Regions from separate parts of the Homo sapiens genome. Here region 1 is linked to region 2. The links are contacts of gene promoters, found by promoter capture Hi-C in blood cells and fetal thymus (Javierre and others, 2016). All regions are on one chromosome and are shown on one strand. Each heading gives the region's core, a stretch centred on a gene start or on the middle of the fragment in contact. The rest is flanking DNA. Distances are from core to core; before and after follow the strand shown. Region 1 overlaps GPRIN1 (G protein regulated inducer of neurite outgrowth 1). Region 2 holds the start of FAF2 (Fas associated factor family member 2).

Region 1 (6,123 bases), core at 1-2,500, 150 kb after region 2:
CTGGAGGACACCGGGTCCTCTTTTCCTGGGGATACAGTTCCTGCCTTTCCCACAGACACACGCTCTGCCTGTCCAGGAGACAAGAGCTCTGGCTTTCCTGAGCACATGGGGTCCATCTTTCCCAGAGAAACTGGATCCACCTTGCCTGAAGACATGGGATCCACATTTTTCAAAGATGTGAGATCTGTCTTTGCTGAAGCCGTAGTATCCGTGTGGCCAGACACAGGACGCCCCTCTCCTGAGGAGGCAGGGTCCATCTTTCCCAGGAACCGGGAGTCCTCTTTTGTGGCAGGCACAGTTTCTACATTTCCCACAGATGCGGGATCTGCCATCCCCAAGCATGTGGGATCCAGCCTTCCCAAGGACCCAGGAGCCCCGGTCCCAGAGGATACAGGCCCATTCTTGCCTGATGAGCCTGGAATCAGCTTGCCCAGGAGCCCCGGCTCTGTCTTTCCTGTGGACGCAGAATCCATGCTTTCCAAGGGCATGGGATCTGCCTTTCCCGAGGGCCCAGGATCTCTCTTTCCCGACAATACAAGATCTACCTTTTCTGCAGATGTAGGAGCGACCTTTTCTGAGGACACAGGATGCTCTTTTCCTGAATACCTGGGCTCCTCCTTTCTTGGGAATACAGGGTCCACTTTGTCTGAGGACACAGGATCCACCTTTCTCAAAGACCCAGGATCCTCCTTCCTCGGTGACACTGTATACGTCTTGCTGGAGCACAAAGGATCTACTTTTCCCAGGGATCCAAGATCTTCCTTTCTTACAGTCATGGGATCCATCCTTCCAGGAGCCACAGGATCCCCCTTTCCCAAGATTTCAGGCTCTGCCTTTCCTGTAAACATGGGATCTGCCTTCCGTGAGGACCCAGGATCCTCCTTTCCTATGGAAGTGGAATCGGCCTGCTTTGAGGACTTGAAATCCATCTTCTCTAAGAACATGGGATTTCTGTCATCTGAGGATTTGGGCTCAGTTTTCACGGAGGACACAGGCTCTGGCTTCCCAGACGTGGTGGCTTCTGGTGTCCCTGAGATGGAGGCTCCATGTGCCTCCAATGTCTCCTTGGAGGGTGACTCCTGGGGAGAGAAGCAGGTTGGGGAGGGGCAGGCCAGGCTCCCTCTGGGGCCGTCAGAGCAGGAGGCCCCTTCCCCAGCCCCACTGGGGCTTCTGTGTCTAGACTCCATGCCTGGGCTTTGGTCAGGGGTGTGCCTGGGGGGTGCAGGGCTTGCCTTTTGCTGGGAGGGGCAGTAATCCCTCATAGCCGAGCTGCCAGCCCCCAGGCTCCCATCCTGTGGGCAGAAGAAGGCTGTGGGTCGGGGTCCTGGGGGGCTGGAATCCTTTTGAAGCAGCTGGAGCCAGGCCGGGTCTTCAGCAGTGTCCATCTGCCCTCATGACCACGCCTGCACCCAAGGCTGCTGTCTGGTTCTGAAACAGAGAGAGAGCTGACTCAGACTTCCCAAAGCTCAGTGGGGGAGGAGACTCTGCCTTCTCCCCTTCCTCACTGAGTGCTGTGTCCCATCTGGTCCCCACCTGTCCAGAGGACCTAGACTAAAAACACAAACCCAAGCATGTCACTCCCCTGCTTCACTGCTCCCAGTGGCCCTCTGTATAAAGACGTCTTACAAGGCATTCAACGCCCTTCACAACTTGGCCACAGCCTAACTTTCTTTTTCTTTTTCTTTTTTGAGACAGAGTTTCGCTCTTGTTGCCCAGGCTGGAGTGCAATGGCGCGATCTCAGCTCACCGCAACCGCAACCTCCGCCTCCTGGGTTCAAGCGATTCTCCTGCCTCAGCATCCCAAGTAGCTGGGACTACAGGCATGCGCCACCACGCCCAGCTAATTTTGTATTTTGTTGGTCAGGCTGGTTTCGAACTCCCGACCTCAGGTGATCCGCCCACCTCAGCCTCCCAAAGGCTGAGATTACAGGCGTGAGCCACTGCGCCCCACCCACAGCCTAACTTTTCAACTTTGCCTACTATCGCCCCTCTCTGTTCAACCCCACCCCATGCAACACACTATCCAGAAGTTATGCTTTTGTCCTCTAGGCCAGGGGCTGCAAGCTCTGATGTCCGGGGGTCAAGTAGGTAATTTAAGTGAGGGAAGTGGGTTAGGTATAAGACAAAAGGGAGTGGTGGGGACTATGGCAAATTAGAGAGCACATGCTCTGTCTAAAGGGATGGCCGGGTGCGGCGGCTCACGCCTGTAATCCCAGCACTTTGGGAGGCTGAGGCTGACGGATCACTAGAGGTCAGGAGTTCAAGACCCCCCTGGCCAACATGGTGTAACCCCCTCTCTACTAAATATACAAAAAAATTAGCCAGGTGTGGTGGTGCACGCCTGTAATCCCAGCTACTCAGGAGGCCGAGGCAGGAGAATTGCTTGAACCTGAGAGGCAGAGGTTGCAGTGAGCCAAGATCGTGCCACTGCACTCCAGCCTGGGCAACAGAGCAAGACTCCATCTCAAAAATAAACAAAAACAAAAATTAATAAAAATAATAAAGGGAGAACCACTACTCCCATCAGCCAAGTGCTATCCTGGAGAAATGCAACCTGGTGGTCCCAGTTCTTCCAGTTGCTTAAGTGGGAAATCCAGACTTTAATGTAAAATATGCTAATTAATTAAAGGTTTAAAAAAAAAAAACCCAAACATTATGTGGGCCAAACAAGACTTGCCTGTAGGCCACCAGTTTATGTCTATGTAGGCCCTGGAGAGCTGTGAATGGTTTATAGTCAAGGAAGGGACATAGTCAGATGTGTGTGTTTTCAAAGATTCCTCTGGGATGGTATGGAGGCTGGGCTGAAGGAGCACAGGGGTTGGCCAAGACCTGTGAGGAAGCTGGTAAATCATTCATTTAATCTTTCATCCATTTAATCCTTCATTCATTCACCTAGCCCCTTCTCTGCAACAGGCCCTGAGCAGTTGCAGGAATCTCGATGAGAGACAGCACAGCAGAGGTCCTGGAGATGGTAGTTAAAGGCAGAATTGAGAAATCCAAAGGAAAACTGACAGGTACCAACAGGCTGTACTGGTAATGGCAGGGGCGGTCTGCAGGGTACTGGCTAGGGTGAGGGCTGCTGGGTGATGGTGCTGAGCAGGAGATGTAGGAAAGAGGGAGATCCGTTTTTGGACAAGCTGAGTTTGTAGTGCCTGGGGGATATCCAAGAAGAGGGTCCAGCAGGCAGCTGGGCCTACAAGCAACCCCGTTCCGTTACACACTCAGTAGCCAAAGCAAATAGAGCTCCTGATCCCCTCAAACCTGCTCCAAAACCATGGCTTTAATGCTCAGGCCCAAATCCCTAATCACCCTTGACTTTCACACCCCACGTCTATCAGCAAAACATAATGGAGTTACCATCAGAATATATCCAGCATCTGGCTACTGCCATCTGGACCCCCCACCATCTCTCACCTGGATTATCCCTGCCTTTTCCTTTGTCCCATAGCTTATTCTCAACACAGCAGCCAGAGGGATCTTAGTAAAACCCGAGACAAATCATGTACCCCTCTGCTCGGAACCAGGCAGTGTCTCCCCATCCCATGCAAAGTAAAAGTAAACTCCTTAGAATGGCTCAGAAGCCCCTGCATCTTCAGGCCCCGTCACCTCCTCTGCCCTTTCTGCTGCTGCTCTCCCTCTCCCTCACGCTGCTTCAGCCACGCGGGGTGCCTCGCTGTGCGCCTTGCTGTGCCTTGAACACGCCTGCCTCCATGCCTTGGCGCTGCCTGCTTCTTCTGCATGGAGAGATTTCTCTCCAAATATCTGCATGGTCGGCTCCCCAAGGCTTTCCCTGACCCATGCAATGTAAAACAGCCTCCTCCCCAGCTCTGGCTGGCATTCTCCACCCTCTTATTCTAATCAGTTTTCCTCCATAGTACCTGTCACCATCTGACATATCACATATATTCGCTTATTGCTTGTGGTGTGTTGCTCTCATTAAAATGCCAGCTCCAGGAGGTGGGGACTTTGCTGTGCTATCTGATATATCCCAGAGTTGAGACCTGGCACACATGCAGTAAGCAAGGAAGATCCTCATACGGATTTGTTCCATGAATGACTGAATGACCTAAGATGCAGAGCCACCTGTGCCCTCCTTGGCTCAAAACCCTCCTCATTCTTGCCGGAAATGTAAATTAGTTGTAATCTTTTTAGAAGGACATTTATCAATTTCTATCAAAGTTTACAACGCGCATAGCATTTGAGCCACCAAGCCCACCTCTAAGCATGGTCCTAAAGATAGACCTGGGGTCCTGAAGATGGTCCTGGGGTACACAAGGGCATGGCTAGTGATGAGAACAAGACGGGGAGGCAGGTTCTGTGAACTGTGGGACAACCACGCAGAGCACCGGGCAGCTACTAGAAGGTGTGGGGTAATGAGGGAAAGCACCCAAGATAAATTAATTGAAAAAGGCCAGGGGACAGCATCGCTACTGGGATCCCACGCGTGTAGCCAAGGAAAAGGACACACATGGATGGGTTTATTTATAAAGAGAATTTCTGGATGGAATCCTATAAAACTTTTAGCAGTGACTGCCTCTCAGAAGGAAGAGCGGGGATCTGAGGGTGGGAGAAGCTTTTCTTTGTGCGCCCCTTTGTGATGTTTAAATTGTGGTTATGTGCGCACATAGTCCTTTTTTTTTCCAATGGACAATAAAGAGAAACCTTTAATGACTCACTCTTACCTTTGGGGTAAAGTCCAGCTCTTTAATATGCTCCTAAGCCCCTATGTTTCTACTTAAGTGCTGGGATTTATCTTTCATTACCCACTCCCACCCCCAAAACATGTACACACACAGATACACACTCTCTCTCTCCCCCACCATCTCAGCCTCTACACACCCTCTTCTGGAGGAATCTCTCCCTCCCTTCTTGCCTGGCTGTCTCTTATTACACCTTCAGATCTCCGTTAAAACACCTCCTCCTCTAGTGGGCCTTGTTTGGCTACCAGCTTCCTGGGGATTCCTGTAGCCTCTCGTTCCTCCTCTAACAAGGCTCATGTCACTCTGCATCTGGCCATTTACACCTCTGGGTCCCTGGCCAGACCTCAGGTCTCTGGATGGGGACACAGTCGATACTGTTCACTACTGGGTCCCTCAGGCTCTGGCTTATGAGGTGGGGGAGGGGGACCATCACTAAGAGGGAACACAGGAAGAGGAACAGTTTTGCAGAGGATCATGGGGCACTGGGTTTCGGAAGTGGAACTGGAGTGCCCATGGGACTTATGGGGGGTGACATCCAGGAGGCAGTAGGAAGCAGGCCAGAAGCACGGGAGAGGTCTGGTTGGAATTCGTGGGATCACTGGATGGTCACCAGCCTGCAGGGGTCAGGCAGGCATCAGATTTGAGTGGCGTGAATTGAGTCCATCTTCATCTTTGGCCTTTTGATAGTGATATGGGCACAAATATTTGTTTTCTCCTACAAGGGAGATGATGAAAGACTCCTGACATCCCCAGACTGAGGGAGACAAGAGGGAGTGGTGGGGACTGTGGCAAACTAGAGGGCACTGGCCCCTTCTAAAGGGGCAACGGCACTCAATTCCTGCCAGCTGTGGCCAATTAGGAATCATTCCATTAACTCAGCATTTACTGAGCACACAGGCAATGTTCTAGGCATTATTCTTGGGACTGGGGATACAGCAGTGAATAAGAAATGTGGGGTCCCTGCCTTATAGATGCAGAAAGATTGGGAGGAGAGAAATAAACAAGTGGCAAATAAATCATAGTATTTCAAATAATGGATGCTGTGAAGACAAAGGAGTGGGCAGCTGGTTTAGACATGTGGTCAAGAAAGGCCCCTCTGAGGCAGTTACCATCTGAGCCAGCCATGAAGAGCTGGAGTGGAGTCGGAAAGGGGGTGGCAGCGGAAGAGGAGGCAGCAAATCACATGAGGCATGGTGGAGGAGGGGGGTTTAGCCTAAGGGCACTGGAAACCCTGGAAGTATTTTCTTTTTATTTGAGACAATGTCTCACTCTGTTGCCCAGGCTGGAGTGCAGTGGCGCGATCTCGGCTCACTGCAGCCTTGACCTCCTGGGCTCAAGTGATCCTCCCACCCCAGCCTCTCAATGTAATAGGATTATACCTTGATCTCTTGAGGCCAAGAGTTCCAGACCAGCATGGGCAACA
Region 2 (6,194 bases), core at 1,586-4,085:
ACAGGTGTGAGCCACCGTGCCCGGCCCACACTTGGCTAATTAAAAAAAAAAAAAAAAATTGGTAGAGGCAGTCTCACTATATTGCCTAGGCTGGTCCCCAACTCCTAGGCTCAAACAATCCTCCCACCTTGGCCTCCCAGAATGCTGGGATTACAGGCATGAACCACCGCGTCTGGCCAAAAACCACCTTTGGACAGGGAATGGACACTCCGGCTTTTCATATTTTGTCCCCACACGGAGACACATTAAAGTAGAGTTTTAAACAAATGAATTATTTCTTGTAACCTAATCTTTATTGAAAGAAGAAAACAGGGCCAGGTGCGATGGCTCACGTCTGTAATCCCAGCACTTTGGGAGGCCGAGGCGGGCGGATCCCGAGGTCAGGAGATCGTAGACCATCCTGGCTAAGACGGTGATACCCCATCTCTACTAAAAATACAAAAAAAAAATTAGCCGGGCATGGTGGCAGGCACCTGTAAGCCTCAGCTACTCAGGAGGCTGAGGCAGGAGAATGGCATGAACCCAGGAGGCAGAGCTTGCAGTGAGCCAAGATCAGGCCACTGCACTACAGCCTGGGCGATAGAGCAAGACTCCGTCTCAAAGAAAAGAAAGAAAGAAAGAAGAAAACAGAAAGATAGAAAAAGAAAGTGTAACTTTCTTTGAGGAAGTGAAGAAATATTCAATGGTGTTTCATATAACTACAAATTAGGTCTGTTGAAAGAATATGTTACCCAGGCTGGAATGCAGTGGTGTGATCACAGCATACAACAGCCTTGAACTCATGGCCTCAAGTGGTCCTCTCACCTCAGCCTCCCGAGTAGCTGGGACTACAGGCATTTGCCACCATGCCTGCTGGCAAGTATATATCTTAAGTGAGAATTACACAATTCCTGAGGACATCTGACTTTGCCAACCCTCATTTAGTTTATCTGAACCCAACGTTATTGGTGAGATTGAACAACACTGAGTTTCCTTTGAGCTTTGAGCTGCTGTAATAAATTCTCTATAGAGTAGCAGCTATCTGCTTCCGATTTTACCTTCGGGGGTTTTTACTTAATTGACATATTATTTATTTATTTATTTATTTTTGAGACGGAGTCTCACTCCGTCGCCCAGGCTGGAGTACAGTGGGGCAATCTCAGTTCACTGCAACCTCCGCCTCCCAGATTCAAGCGATTCTCCTGCCTCAGCCTCCCGAGTAGCTAGGACTACAGGCGTGCGCCACCAACCCTGGCTAATTTTTGTATTTTTAGTAGAGACAGGGTTTCGCCATGTTGGCCAGGCCAGTTTCGAACTCCTGACCTCAAGTGATCCGCCCGCCTCGGCCACCCAAAGCGCTGGGATTACAGGCGTGAGCCACAGAGCCCGGCCGACACCATTTTTAAACGGAAAGATTTCATATGCAGATCCAAATTTGCAGGGTTTTTGTTTTGTTTTGTTTTGTTTTTCCAATTAGCACTTTTTGGGGGTTGTGTTTTAGGGCGTACCATGTGCTGTTTTTCCAGGACGTCGTGGTTTGTGCAGACCTGGTAAGACCTGATAAGTCCTGAAAGAAGTAGCCAAAATTTCATGTACTCTTCACAGAACCAGCTCTCAAAGCCTTTTCTGTCTCACCGGATCAACCCTGCAAGGGGACGAGGGTGGGGCGCAGGCGGCCGAGAGCCTTGCTGAGAATCACACAGGTGGTCAGTGGAAAAGCGTGTACCAGACCCAGGCCTCTCTGGAAGGTGGGCAGAGGAGGCGTTCGGCGGGAGAGGTGGAAATGAAAACGGGAAATCTAAAGAGAGGTGGCGGACTAGAAGGGGCAAGGGACGTGCAGAGGAAGATAGAGATTGAGGGGTGGTGATAGGGTAGTGTAAGCAGCAGAAGGGAAGGGCAGGGGACTGCCTCGAGGAGAAGGGGCGGCGGCAGCACGTCAGGGGCTTTTGGGGAATCTCATTCAACAAATGGCAAAATGGAGCCCAAGTGGTTTGCCCAAGGATGTCCAGCAGTTGGCAAGGTGGCAACTAGAACCCGCGTCTCCTAATCCCGGTCCAGGGATCTTTCTTCGCCTGTCACAGAGACAAGGGGCCAGTGCAGCGCTAGTGCGGAGAGACAAGGCTCCAGGCACGGAAAAGCAGATGCCGGGCCGGGGTTCCAGCGCCGCAGTCACGGCGGTGGACGGCAAGCTGTGCGGACGACTGGGGGCGCCATGAATGGTCGAGGATCCGGGGAGCCGAGTCCAGATCTTCCTGCAAGTGACCCCGAAGCGGCAATGGAACGGTGGCCGAAGTCTGCCCACAGCTTCCGCTTCGAAGGCGGCGTCGGAAATGCCGCGCCAGTATCCAGAGCCCTTCGGAACCTCCCGAGAGATGGTCAGGAGCTTTTGGAAACTTTAGGTCAGGGGCCAGCGACCAAAAGGCTGGTATTTCGGAACGGCTGCGTCTCCCGAGAAACCTCCAAGAGTATCTGAGGTTGCCGGAAAATGGTTAGAGAGCAGCCGAAATCAGCCGAATGCCATTCGGGATGCTCCGGAGCTTCTCGAGGCACATTCGGGCCCTCTCGGCTCTGCAAGACTGCACTGGAATCTTAGGTCTCCTTTCGTCGCCTAATCTTAGCAGATCCTTTCGTCGCCTAAATGGTAAGAGCGACTTGTACCGACAGTCCCTCGGCAATTTCCGGAAGTGTTCGGGATAGGCCCGAGCGTGGCGCCCTCTGGCGGCGGCCAGAGGTGGCGGGGGGCGGGGGGAGGTTAGTGGGCCAGCGCGCGCAGACGCAGTTGCGCGCCGGCGGCCGTTCAGACCGGATGTGGTTGTGGCTGAGGTCAGTTCCGGCGGGTGACGGTGCGGACGGGTCAGGAGCGTAGAGGCGGCGGCAAAATGGCGGCGCCTGAGGAGCGGGATCTAACCCAGGAGCAGACAGAGAAGCTGCTGCAGTTTCAGGTAGCAGCGAGTACTCGGTGCAGCAGATGCCTCCGTGGGATGGGGAGTAGGCCCCTAGAGGAGTTCAGAACCCTCCTCAGATTGGGTTCAGATCCTTCTCAGACCAGCAGGCCGGCCCCCTCCCCCCCAGACTCCAACTGCCCTGATTCCCCCGGCCCCCAAGCCTCTGTTGGACCCTAGCCTTCCAGCCATCGCTGCGGGCAGACCCGCCTCGTCTGTGCCTCTGTGCCCTCAGCGTGTCAGCTTCCCTGGTTTGCCTTAGCGGCGTCAGTCCTCAGCCATCCTTCCCAGCCCGGTTATCGGTCGGACCCTCTCCGCCCAACGAGTCTATATCTGCCGGAGAAGCTTAGTCCCCACCGCGGAGTTGGCGTCATTTCGGGTCTCTGACAGGAAAACCTCCTGCCAGCATCCCATGCCATTTCCACATACACTCCCACAAACTGGGGCCTCTTGGATACCAGGTTTCGTGTTGGGGGTTCCGGTCGGGGAGGGGGCACCTACACACAGATCTGGTCCCCGCCCTAGAGGTGTGGGAGGACACCAAGTGAGGAAACAATGCAAGATGATAAGTGTCATCAGTGGTCTGTCGGGATTTATTACTTTTGGCTTATTCCTGGATTCCTGTGCTTAACTATGCTTGAGGAGGGTGGTAACTTGCAGAAATGTTATGTTAATACAAGATGTTGTATTAAGAACATTTGCCACTGATCACTTACCCCTGAGCTGGAGAATGGTTGGAGGATACCACTAGGGTGGGTAACCTTGGCACTTTGTTACCAGTTTCCTTATCTCTGAAAGGACTGTCTTAAAAATGTCTACCCCCAGGCCAGGAGCGGTGGCTCACGCCTGTAATCCCAGCACTTTGGGAGGCCAAGGCCAGCGAATCACGAGGTCAGGAGTTCGAGACCACTCTGGCCAATATGGTGAAACCCCGTCTCTACTAAAAATACAAATATTAGCCGGGCGTGGTGGTGCACGCCTGTGGTCCCAGCTACTCGGGAGGCTAAGGCAGGAGACTCGCTTGAACCCGGGAGGCGGAGGTTGCAGTGAGCCGAGATCGTGCCACTGCACTCCAGCCTGGGCAACAAGAGTGAAACTCCGTCTCAAAAAAAAAAAAATCTACCTCCTGAGGATGTTCGGGAGATCAAATGGACATATGGATGTTAGAAGGGCCTTGTAGACTGCAAAATGCCCCCAAATAGTATTTTCTGCTATTAATTTGACTTAGGATAGACCTAAAGTTATTGATACACTTATTTCCTTATATAAAATGTGTAAATATTCATTTATTCAACTATATGAAGAACCTTAGTGCGCAGCGCTGCTAGGTAGAATCCCACTTACTATTTCAGATGTAAGTACTTTGTAAACACTTAGCATACATAACCTCATTTAATACAGCAACCCTATGAGGTTCATACTGTTCTAGTCCCTGATTTACAGATGAAGGGTATCAGGACTAAGAAATAAAATGCTTAGGTTACACAGCTAGAAAATGATGGTGTCAGATTTAAAGCTATGTCCATCTTCCAGAACCCTTCCCAGGCTTCTGACTTCTGTCTTGTGCAACTTATATTTCAGTGTACAGTTGAGTGTGGAATGCAAATGCTGAGAAAATAAATATTTTTTTGGCGAGTTCTCACTTTTTTGCAATTTCCTTGAATAGACTTCACTATAATAAATTTTGAAGTGGTTATTTTTTCCCCTCTTAAATTGAGCAGTGTGTTGGAAGTGTATAAATGGAAAAATGCTGTCATAGATGTAATTGACATTTGATTGGAATTTTTGGTAGAGAAATTGAATTGATGACCCAGCAAATTATTATTAGAGAATGAGTTAAACAGACAACCAGCTTACACTTCCAGGTAGACCACCAATTTCAGAGTGTTGTTTAACTTTGGCAGACCATTTTACCCCTTAGAACTCTTCAGGGGTAAGCTAACATGTGGTTTAAGTGCAATGAAGTAATGTGAGTTATAAATTATGGTATATTTAGTCTCATACTGGAAGAGCATGAATATAAATCTATGATAGCATTTCTGAAGTAAAGTGCATAGGAACCTCCATTTTATCTTCTGTGGAGATCTTTTTTTTTTTTTTGAGACGGAGTTTCGCTCTTGTTGCCCAGGCTGGAGTGCAGTGGCGCGATCTCGGCTCACTGCAACCTCCGCCTTCCAGTTTCAAGCGATTCTCCTGCCTCAGCCTCTCGAGTAGCTGGGACTACAGGCACGCGCCACCACATCCAGCGAATTTTTTGTATTTTTAGTAGAGACGGGGTTTCACGATGTTGGCCAGGATGGTCTCGATTTCTTGACCTCGTGATCCGCCCTCCTCGGCTGGGATTACAGGCGTGAGCCGCCGCGCCCGGCCAAAACTGTGGAGATCTTTATTAGAAGAGAGGTGGGTAGCAGGTTCGAGCTGTATTAAGATTGCCTTATGAAATTGGATTTATTGAGGGAAATGCATCTTTCATTTTTCTATTCTATAAGCAATCGCTGGATCAGATTCATTATCCAGACTGCCATTAAACAAACAGTTGTTGAAACTTATTAGATGCCAAGCATTATACCAAGCAGCAGTTGATGTACATTAACTCTTTTTTTAAGAAAAATATTTTAGACCATGTGTGGTGGCTCATGCTTGTAATCCCAGCACTTTGGGAGGCCGAGGCAGGTGGATCACCTGAGATCAGGAGTTCGAGACCAGCCTGGCCAACATGGCAAAACCTCGTCTCTACTAAAAATACAAAAATTAGCCAGGCATGGTGGCATGTGCCTGTAATCCCAGCTACTAGGGGGGCTGAGGCAGGAGGCTCACTTGAACCCGGGAGGTGGAGGTTGCAGTGAGCCAAGATCGTGCCACTGCACTCCAGCCTGGGCAACAGAGCGGGACTCTGTCTCAAAAAAAAAATTTTTTTTTAAGTAGAGACGGGAGTCTTGCTATGTTGTCCAGGCTGCTCTCAAACTGCTGCCTCAGAGGTTGAGATTACAGTGTTGAGATGAGTTGCCTCAGTGTTGAGATTACAGATGTGAGCCACCACACCTGGCCCCTTAACTCTTTTAAACCTTTTAATATAACAGTGTAAAGGGTTAATCTTGTTCATTTTAATAATGAAGAAACAGGTTCTGAGAGGTCAAATAGCTTTCACAAGTAGTAAGTGGTAGAGATTTAGAAATTTATATCCACAACCATCTTCTGTGTAACTTAATGGAGAAGTCAAGTACACACATGAATAATGGGTATGCGATATATATAGATATATATATATGTGTA

Evidence for each region. The method cuts DNA at HindIII sites, captures the fragments that hold promoters and counts their contacts. A CHiCAGO score of 5 or more calls a contact.
Region 1: a fragment that was not itself captured here is called in contact with the fragment with the promoter of FAF2 in region 2 in 1 of 17 cell types (naive CD4 T cells); the score reaches 5.9 in naive CD4 T cells.

The regions. Positions count from the first base shown.
Region 1 is chr5:176,598,450-176,604,572 of GRCh38, forward strand. GPRIN1 (G protein regulated inducer of neurite outgrowth 1) reads right to left here. Exons shown (of 2, transcript NM_052899.3): 2 at 1-1,428. The coding sequence starts at 1,385. Among named protein-coding and RNA genes, the nearest start is that of GPRIN1, 8.6 kb to the right of the region's middle. The HindIII fragment of the contact is 6,641 bases long and covers 1-4,571 here.
Region 2 is chr5:176,445,550-176,451,743 of GRCh38, forward strand. It overlaps FAF2 (Fas associated factor family member 2), which reads left to right and starts at 2,836. Exons shown (of 11, transcript NM_014613.3): 1 at 2,836-2,921. The coding sequence starts at 2,859. RefSeq lists enhancers at 2,217-2,406, 2,487-2,546, 2,857-2,916 and a silencer at 2,727-2,776. The HindIII fragment of the contact is 11,476 bases long and covers 1-3,264 here.